Regions from separate parts of the Homo sapiens genome. Here region 1 is linked to region 2. Evidence: promoter capture Hi-C in human tissues and cell types (Jung and others, 2019). All regions are on one chromosome and are shown on one strand. Each heading gives the region's core, a stretch centred on a gene start or on the middle of the fragment in contact. The rest is flanking DNA. Distances are from core to core; before and after follow the strand shown.

What was found. Contacts are between HindIII fragments. The study calls those that stand out against the background at their distance.
Region 1: a contact is called between a fragment that was not itself captured here and the fragment with the promoter of ASL in region 2, in 1 of the 25 tissues and cell types used here (spleen).

Annotation. Positions count from the first base shown.
Region 1 is chr7:67,313,290-67,318,561 of GRCh38, forward strand. It overlaps the pseudogene STAG3L4. Among named protein-coding and RNA genes, the nearest start is that of LINC01372, 20 kb to the right of the region's middle. The HindIII fragment of the contact is 8,480 bases long and covers 1-5,272 here.
Region 2 is chr7:66,074,566-66,079,733 of GRCh38, forward strand. ASL (argininosuccinate lyase) reads left to right here and starts at 1,254. Exons shown (of 17, transcript NM_000048.4): 1 at 1,254-1,291; 2 at 1,474-1,528. The coding sequence starts at 1,517. RefSeq lists a silencer at 895-1,424 and an enhancer at 1,525-1,804. The HindIII fragment of the contact is 4,995 bases long and covers 1-1,938 here.

The DNA of each region.
Region 1 (5,272 bases), core at 1,728-4,227, 1.2 Mb after region 2:
TGGATCTCCTTGTACATCCTCACCAGAGCTCGTGGGTGACCAGGTGCCTTATCACTGAGCAGTAATATTTTGAAAGGAATCTTGTTTTCTGAGCAGTAGGTCTCACCCATGTGCTTAAAATATTCAGGAAACCATGCTGTGAACAGATGTGATATCATTAAGCTTTGTTGTTTCATTTATAGAGCATAGGCAGAGTAGATTTAGCATAATTCTTAAGAGCCTTAGGATTTTTAAAATGGTAAATGAGTATTGGCTTCAACATAAAGTCACCAACTGCATTAGCCCCTAACAAGGAGTCAGGCTGTCCTTTGACGCTTTGAAGCCAGGCATTGACTTCTCCTCAATAGCTGTGAAAGTCCTAGGTGGCATTTTCCAATATAAGGCAGTTTAGTCCACACTGAAAATTCATTGTTTAGTGTAGCCACCTTCATCAATGATCTTAGCTAGATTTTCTTGATAACTTGTTGCTTCTCTATCAGTATTTGCTGCTTCACCTTGTACTTTTATGTTATGGAGAGGGCTTCTTTTCTTAAACCTCATGAACTAACTTCTAGCTTCAAACTTTTCTTCTGTGGCTTCCTTACTTTGCTCAGCCTTCATAGAATGGAAGACAGCTAGGATGTTGATCTGGATTGGGCTTTGGCCGAAGGGAATGTTGTGGCTGGTTTGATCTTCTGTTCCGACTACTAAAACTGTCTCTATATCAGCAATAAGACTGTTTAACTTTCTTACCCTTTGTGTGTTCACTGGAGTAGCGTTTTTAATTTCTTTCAAGAATTTTTCTTTTGCATTCACAACTTGGCTGTTTGGCACAAGAGGCCTAGCTATTGATTGGCCTGTCTTGGCTTTCAACTAAGCTTAATCATTTCTTTTTTTTTTTTTTTTTTTTTGTCTTTTTGAGATAGTGTCTCGCTTTGTTGCCCAGGCTAGAGTGCAATGGCGTGATCTCGGCTCACTGCAACCTCCGCCTCCCAGGTTCAAGCGATTCTCCTGCCTCAGCCTCCTGAGTAGCTGGGATTATAGGTGCCTGCCACCGTGCCCGGCTAATTTTCTGTTTTTAGTAAAGACAGGGTTTCGCCATGTTGGCCAGGCTGGTCTCAAACTGACCTCAAGTGATTTGCCACCTCGGCCACCTAAAGTGCTGAGAATATAGGTATGAGCCACCACGCCTGGCCTCTAAGCTTAATCATTTCTAGCTTTTGATTTAAAATGAGAAACATATGACTCTTCCTTTCATTTGGATACTTAAGAGGGTTATTAATTGACCTAATTACAATACTTTTATGTCTCAAGGAATGAATAGGGAGGCCTGAGGAGAGAGACAGAGACAGGGAAGCTTGTTGGTAGGGTAGTCAGAACACAGACAACATTTGTTAAGTTTGCCATCTTATATGGGCATGGTTCGTGGTACCCCAAAACAGTTATAGTAGTAACATCAGGCTGGGTGTGATGGCCCATGCCTGTAATCCCAGCATTTTGGGAGGCCAAGGCGGGTGGAGACCTTGAGGTCAGGACTTCAAGACCAGACTGGGCAACATGGCAAAACCCCTTCTCTACAAAAAAATACAAAAATTACTGGGGCATGGTGATGCATGCCTGTAGTTGCAGCTACTTGGGAGGCTGAGGTGGGGGGGATCACTTGAGCCCAGGAGGTTGAGGCTGCAGTAAGCCGTGTTTGCACCATTGCACTCCAGCCTGGGTGACAGAATGAGAACCTGCCTCTGACAAAAAAAAAAAAAAAAAAAAAAAGTTATTTTTCTCCACTAAGACTTGGAATGGTTTGCTGGGTAGCAATGGATATAGCTGACACATCCCCACATCCCTCACCTTCTCTCACTATGTGGGGTGTACCCAGTCTCTGGCTTCTAATGTCGAGGGCCTCCAACTTGACACTTCTAGCTCAGAGTATGTTCTTAAGGCCTTGCCTCACTTATAGAACTTCCTAGTGGTTAGCTATGATGCATGGCAAACACATCTGACAACAGTAACATCAGCATACCTTGAAAATGACCCCATGGTCTTAAGAAGAGTATGTGTTGAAAATTCTAAGCTAAGGAATCCAGGAGTGGCCAACCCAGAGATTCATTTCTTATCTGTGAGGAACATCTGAACCCCTGGACCATCTAGGGGATGGTGGCCTTTGTTTGGGGTTCAGTGAAGGTTTGCCAGAGGGAGGGTGCTAGGGGGAGGGTGCTAAGTGGAAATGCTCTATAAACTGCATGCTTTTTTTTTTTTTTTTTTTTTGAGACAGAGTCTTGCTCTGTCACCCAGGCTGGAGTGCAGTGGCACAATCTCGGCTCACTGCAAGCTCTGCCGCCTGGGTTCACACCATTCTCCTGCCTCAGCCTCCCGAGTAGCTGGGACTACAGGCACCTCCCACCACGCCTGGCTAATTTTTTGTATTTTTAGTAGAGATGACGGGGTTTCACCATGTTAGCCAGGATGGTCTCAATCTGACCTTGTGATCCGCCCACCTTGGCCTCCCAAAGTGCTGGGATTACAGGCGTGAGCCACCACGCCCGGCCCAACTGCATGCTTTTTGTAAGCAGGTGTGATTCTCCTGTTCCACCTGCCATGTCTGGACTACCCTGTAAGTCCCCTTAATAAACCCTATGTCTTGCCTGCTGGCCAGGCATGATGGCTCATGCCTGTAATCCAAGGACTTTGGGAGGCCAAGACAGGCAGATCACTTGAGGTCAGGAGCTTGAGACCAGCCTGGCCAACATGGTGAAAACTCCATCTCTACTAAAAATACAAAAAAAAAATTAGCTGGGTGTTGTGGCATGCACCAATAATCCCAGCTACTTAGGGGGCTGAGGTAGAAGAATCTCGAACCGGGGAAGCAGAGGTTGCAGTGAGCCGAGATCACGCCATTGCACTCCAGCCTGGGCAACTAGACTCTGTCTCAAAAGACAAACAAACAAACAAAAACAGACCAGGCACAGTGGCTCATGCCTGTAATTACAGCACTTAGGGAGGCAGAGGCAGGTGGATCGTCTGAGGTCAGAAATTTGAGACCAGCCTGGTCAACATCGTGAAACCCTGTCTGTACTAAAAATACAAAAATTAGCAGGGCATGGTAGTGAGCGACTGTAATCTCAGCTACTCGGGAGGCTGAGGCAGGAGAATTGCTTGAACCCGGGAGTTGGAGGTTGCAGTGAGCTGAGATTGAACCACTGACTCCAGCCTGGGCAGTAGAGTGAGACTCCATCTCGAAAAAACAAAACAAAACAAACACAACAGAAATGAGAAAACAAAACCCGGCCAGGTGCGGTGGCGCAACACCTGTAATCCCAGGACTTTGGAAGTCCGAGGCAGGTGGATCACGAGGTCAGGAGTTTGAGACCAGCCTGATCAACATGGTGAAACCCTAGCTCCACTAAAAATACAAAAAACAGCTGGGCATGGTGGCAGGCGCCTGTAATCCCAGCTACTCAGGAGGCTGAGGCAGGAGTATCGCTTGAACCTGGGAGGCAGAGGTTGCAGTGAGCTGAGATTGTACCACTGCACTCCAGCCTGGGTGACGGAGCAAGACTCCGTCTCAAAAAAAAAAAAAAAAAAGAAGAACAGAATGTTCTAGGCATTTTAAAAATACATTTTATTTATTTTAGTATGTATTCATTTATTTTTGAGATGAAGTCTGGCTCTCTTGCCCAGGTTGGAGTGCAGTGGCGAGATCTCGGCTCACTGCAACCTCTGCTTCCTGGGCTCAAAGCACCCTCCCACTTCAGCCTCCTGAGTAACTGGGACTACAGGTGCCTGCCACCATGCCTGGCTAACTTTTGTATTTTTTGTAGAGATGAGGTTTCGCAATGTTGCCTAGACTGGTCTCCAACTCCTGGGCTCAAGTGATTCTCCTGCCTTGGCCTCCCCAAATGCTGGGATTACCGGTGTACCCACCACACCTGGCCTCTGGGCAGATTTTTATGTTTTTATTTTTAATTTTTAATGGTTTTTTTTGGTATCTAAAATACCAAAATGCCATTCTGTCACCCAGGCTGGAGTGCAGTGGCATGATCTTGGCTCACTGCAACCTCCGCCTCTTCGTTTCAAGCAATTCTCCTGCCTCAGCCTCCTGACTACAGACACGTGCCACTGTACCTGGATAATTTTGTATTTTTAGGAGAGATGGAGTTTCACCATGTTGGCCAGGCTGGTCTCAAACTCTTGACTTCAAGTGATCTGCCTGCCTCGGCCTCCAAAACTGCAGGGTTTACAGGCCTGAGCCACTGTGCCCAGCCTAGGATTTCTTTGTCTTCTTCCAGTAAGTGTTAGTTCAAGCTCTCCTCTCCCCACTGTTGTTTCTTATCAAGGCCCTCAGCAATCTTCTAAAAACCATATTATAGATCTAAAATTGCTTTTCAATTCTGGAATTCAAAAAGGTCTGGAGGCTGGGCGAGGTGGCTCACTCTGGTAATCCCAGCAGTTTGGGAGGCTGAGGCAGGAGGAGGGCTGGAAGTCAGGTGTTCAAGACCAGCTTGAGCAACATAGCAAGATCCTTGTCTCTACATCTCTACAAACAAAAAATTAGCTGGGTGTGGTGGCATTCACATGTAGTTTCAGCTATTCAGGAGGCTGAGGCAGGAGGATTGTTTGAGCCCAGGAGTTCGAGGATGCAGTGAGTTATGATTGCACCACTGCACTCCAGCCTGGGTGACAGAGTGAGACTCTCTCTCTTAAAAAAAGAGGAGGCATGGGTGGGCATGGTGCTCACGCCTGTAATCCCAGCTCTTTGGGAGGCCGAGGTGGGCGGATCACTTGAGCTCAGGAGTCCAAGACCAGCCTGGCCAACATGGTAAAACCCCGTCTCTACTAAAAATACAAAAATTAGGCAGGCTTGGTGGTGGGCACCTGTAATCCCAGCTACTAGGGAGGCTGAGGCAGGGGGATAGCTTGAACCTGGGAGGTTGCAGTGAGCCGAGATGGTGCCTCTGCACTCCAGCCTGGGTGACAGAGTGAGACCCTGTCTCAAAATTAAATAAATAAATAAATGAAATAAAACTGTGGACCTCCGTACCATAGACTCTGCAGCCATGAAAAGTGAGGAAGCCTTCCTGCACCCACAGAGGCCAATCTCCAAGATATATCATTAGTGAGAAAAGTGAGGTGCTGAACAGTGTAAATGGCATACAGTTTGTGTAAAAATAATTATATGGCCAGGCACGGTGGCTCACCCCTGTAATCCCAGCACTCTGGGAGGCCGAGGTGGGCGGATCACGAGGTCAGGAGATCGAGACCATCCTGGCTAACACGGTGAAACCCCGTCTTTACT
Region 2 (5,168 bases), core at 4-2,503:
ATAGAGACAAGGTTTCACCATGTCAGCCAGGCTCATCTCGAATTCCTGACCTCAGGTGATCCGCCCGCCTCAGCCTCTCAAAGTGCTGGGATTAAAGGCGTAAGCCACTGTGCCCGGCTGCGTTTCTTTTTTCTTTTCTTTTCTTTCTTTCTTTCTTTCTTTCTTTTTTTTTTTTTTTTTTTTTTTGAGACAGAATCTTGCTCTGTCACCCAGGCTGGAGTGCAATGGCACCATCTCAGCTCACTGCAATCTCCGCCTCCCGGGTTCAAGAGATTCTCCTGCCTCAGCCTCCGGAGTCGCTGGGATTGCAGGCACCCGCCACCGTGCCCGGCTAATTTTTGTATTCTTAGTAGAGACGGGGTTTCACCACCTTGGCCAGGCTGGTCTCAAACTCCTGACCTCGTGATCCACCCGCCTCGGCCTTCCAAAGTGCTGGGATTACAGGCGTGAGCCACCGCGCCCGGCCTCCGGCCGCGTTTCTTTTCTTTTTTAGAGGAGTCAGGCTGGAGTGCCGTGGCACAATAGCTCACTGCAGCTTCGAACTCCTGGGCTCAAGTGCTCCTCCCGCCTCAGCCTCCTGAGTAGCTAGGACTGCAGGCGTGCACCACCACGCCCGGCTTTTTTTTTATTATTATTAATTTTTTTGTAGAGACGGGATCTTGTTGTATTGCCCAGGCTGGTCTCCAACTCGTAGCCTCAAGCGATCCTCCCACCTCGGCCTCCCAAAGTGCTGGGATTACAGCTGTGAGCCACCGCGCCTGGCACAGGCTTCATTTCTGATGGTCCTTCCTTTTTCCTTGATGCCTTTCTCTGTACCTGGCACATAGAGGTGCCTGGTACGTGTTTGTTGAATGAATGAATGAATGAGTGAATGAGCGAACATGCCATTTCACCTTATATATCTTGTGAACCTGCCAGGCCCGGGCCTGATGTCATAGCCTCTACCCCTGGCCCGAGTCTCCAGTCCCCTGCGTGTCTGCTGACCACAGCACGAACGCCAGCGCACTACCCTCCTCAACCCCAGCCCAGGCCCCTTCCCCGTCGGGGTCCCCCCAACCCTTTCCCCGCCCGCTTCCCCGCCCCGGGGCCGCTTAGCCTCCAGCTCAGCGGGAGGTATCCCCGCCCACGGCCAGGATTGGAGGATGGAGGCAACGCCCACCCCGCCGGGCGGCCTCCTATTGGCGCGGCCGTCGCCAGGGGTGGGGACAGGACCGGCGGCTGCTGACGCCATCCCGGCCAGAAAAGCCCTGGCCAGTGGCGGGCGCGACACTATCCGTGCGGCCAGGCGGAGGTGAGTGCGCGGCGGCCGGATGGGCGGGACGGGCGTGGAGGACGCCGAGCACCGTGGCGCGCGCTCACGTCCGCGTCCCCAAGGGCTGCGCTCCCTCAAGCGCAGTGCCCAGAACTCGGAGCCAGCCCGGCCCGGGGGACCCTGCTGGCCAAGGAGGTCGTCAGTCCGGTCTTGTCTTCCAGACCCGGAGGACCGAAGCTTCCGGACGACGAGGAACCGCCCAACATGGCCTCGGAGGTGAGTGGGACCTCGGGGACTCCGGTCCTCCTAGCCTCCAAAGGAGAGAGTGGGGGCGCCAGACCTGCCTCGGGCCACCCTGCTGGGAATCGCCCTCCAGGAAGCAATTTTGAAAATTACCTAGGAAGCCTGCACCCCCAGCCCTCCCGGGCGCATCATCTGGAGCCCAGCAGTCACCTTTACCAGGACTCACCAGTATCCGCAGGCAGCCCTTGTGGCAAACCCACCAACCCACACTACTAGGGGTAGAGTGGCTCTGCCCTCACCTCACAGTGATGCCTGCCTGGCCAGGAAAAGTGGCTCCCAAGCCTTCAGCCTTCCAACTCTTCCTTCCTTCTTACCACGTGTCCTCCTGTCAGGTCCCACCCCACACCACATCCCTTCTCCTGCTAGAGCAATTGTCCCTGTTTATAGAATAAAGCTCAGCCCCTAAGTGTTCTTGTCCTTGACTGTGGCATGTGGAAAGAGCCAGGAAAAAGGGGACGTCGCCTCGTGGCTCCAGCAACCCTGGTGCCTGGTCCCTTCCTGTCTCACTGGACCCTGCCTCTTAGGGTCAGTGGCTCCTGGCCTCTCCTCCTGACCACTGAGATGCTGGATTCCCAGGCAGAGGTTTTCCTTCCTTGGGCCATAGTTGATTTATCTGGCAATGGGGGTAATAATAGCTGTCGGCCTCACTCTGTAAGGCACTAGATTATGAGGCCATTGCTTTGGACCCTTCAGGTGAGAGGGGCTGTTCGCCTGATGCTTGATGAAGGGAACTCCGGGAAGCAGGAGGTCTGGGTTCCAGGCCCTTTTGGCCTTCATTAGCTAGCAATTCACTTCCTCTTTCTCAATGCCCTGCAAGCTCAGTGCCCTGCAAGCTTCTGGGTCATGGCAGGGGGGTAGGGCCTGGACTTTGGAGCCAAACAGACTTGGTTTCTGTACCAGTCACTTGAGCCCTTTAAACCTCTTTCCTCATTTGTGAAATAGGGGTAATATTGCCCACCTCATAAAAGGCCGTAATAACATATGTGAAATCCCTAGCACAGGGCTGAGCAACAGTAGGTGCTCAATAAATGGTGGCTAACCACAACAATACTGATATTTCTACTTTGGGAGGCCGAGGCGGGAGGACTGCTGAAGCCCAGGAATTCCAGACCAGCCAGGGCAATGTAATGAGACCCTGTCTCTACAAAAAGATTTTGAAAATTACCCAGGTGTGGTGGCGTACACCTGTAGTCTCACAGGAGGCGGAGGCATGAGGATTGCTTGAGCCCAGGAGTTTGAGACTGCAGTGAGCATGATCTCACCACTGCACTCCAGCCCAGGCAACAGAGTGAGATCCAGTTTCAAAAAAATAAAAATAAAAAAACCTGGCAGGCATGGTGGCTCACACCTGTAATCCCAGCACTTTGGGAGGTCGAGGTGGGCAGATCACCTGAGGTCAGGAGTTTGAGACCAGCCTGGCCAACATGGTGAAACCCCGTCTCTACTAAAAATGCAAAAATTAGCTGGGTGTAGTGGTGGGTGCCTGTAGTCCCAGCTATTCGGGAGGCTGAGGCAGGAGAATCGCTTGAACTCGGGAGGCGGAGGTTGCAGTGAGCTGAGATCGCACCACTGCACTCCAGCCTGGGCGACAAAGCAAGACTCCACCTCAAAAAAAGAAAAAAAACCCACAAGTCCCAAAACCAAAACTGGTATTTCCCATGTACATTCGACCTTAACTGTTGCTCATTCAACCCAGCCCAACTCAGTGCCCCATCCCCTGGCCCTGAAGAGACCATTCTGGCCCAGATGTGTCCTGGCTTGGAGTAGCACCTTCTGCTACCACACTAGGCCTCCACTCTCCTCAGTGCCCAAGGGGAGGCACCTCACTCTGATCTCCCTGTGGGGTCCTCTTATGCCTGCCAGTAAGGATAGGAGTTTGGTTCTAGAGCAGAGTGGTCTGGCTTCCAACAAGCCCAGTGTTCTAGGTGACCTCAGGTTGCCCCAGGCCTTCCTGTAGGTTGGCACTAATTGGTTTGGCTGCAGCTCCACTTATTAAGTAGTTATTTTTATTACTAACAACCTAGGCAGGGTGGCCCAGGAGCCCGCTGGGGGAGGCGGTGCCAGGCTCCTGGCTGAGGGGCAGGCTGGCCCCAATTCTGACTGGCTGGCTCCAGTGATCAGGACCAGGGCCCCACGTGGTGCTTTGCTGGAGATCTAGGCTTGGTGGGGCAGCTGTGGGGTAAGGGGCAGGACCAGCTCAAAGATGGGGTGGGGGCGGAGGCTGCCTCTGCAGGGCAGAGTCCTTTGGCAGTCGGGACTGTTGGGCATAGAGGAGTCAGCTCACAGCTCAGGGCCAGAGCACTGGAGAGGTCTCTGGGGTGCATACAGGAACCAGGAGTGGAGCTGAAGCATGTCCTATCCCCTGCCAGCCCTCCCTTAGTAACAGCTGGCATTTCTCGAGTCCTTCCTGAGCACCAGGCACCGTGTTATGTATGCAATTTGCAAATATTATCTGATTAAATGCTCACAATAAGGCTATCAGAGAGGTACTATTATTATCCTTATCTTATTATTATTATTATTATTATTTTTAAGAAGGAGTCTTGCTCTGTCGCCCAAGCTGGAGTACAATGGCGCCATCTCTGCTCACCGCAACCTCTACCTCCAGGATTCAAGTGATTCTCCTGCTTCAGACTCCCAAGTGGCTGGGACTACAGCTTCCTGCCACCGCGCCTGGCTAATGTTTATATTTTTAGTACAGATGAGGTTTCACCATGTTGGCCAGGCTGATCTCGAACTCCTGACCTCAAGCGATCCACCTGCCTGGGCCTCCCAACCCTGAGGGTTTTTGTTTTTGTTTTTGTTTTGAGACAGAGTCTTGCTCTGTCGCCCAGGCTGGAGTGCAGTGGCACGATCTCAGCTCACTGCAAGCTCCGCCTCCCGGGTTCACGCCATTCTCCTGCCTCAGCCTCCCAAGTAGCTGGGACTACAGGCGCCCAACACCCCCATGCCTGGCTAATTTTTTTGTGTGTGTTTTCAGTAGAGACGGAGTTTCACCATGTTAGCCAGGATGGTCTCCATCTCCTGACCTCGTGATCTGCCCACCTCAGCCTCCCAAAGTGCTAGGATTATAGGTGTGAGCCACCACGCCCAGCCCCTGAGGTTTAATAATAGGTGCCAGGCCAGGTGGTTAATAGAAGTCTGGGGCATTGTAGGGGGACAGAGGAGGATATATGTCCCCATTGGCCATTGTAGACTCCCTTCCACAAAAAGGACGTCAGTGAAGTGACATGCCCACCTCTACCCCACCCTCCTCCCAGTCCTGGGCACTAGGGCTGCTCCCCAGGTGTTCTGTACCCCCTCCCCACTCTGTCCCATGCCCTGGCCTCTGCCCTCTTTCAAAACATAGATGTGGCTGGCGCCTAGGCTCATGCCTATAATCTCAGCACTTTGGGAAGCTGAGGCTGGAGGACAGCTTGAGCCCAGGAATTCAAGACCAGCCTGGGCAACATAGTGAGACCCTGTCTCTACCAATTATTTTATTTTATTTTATTTTGTTCATTTATTTATTTATTTTGAGACAGAGTTTTGCTCTGTCACCTAGGCTGGAGTGCAGTGGCGTGATCTTGGCTCACTGCAACCTCCGCCTCCCGGGTTCAAGCGATTCTCCTGC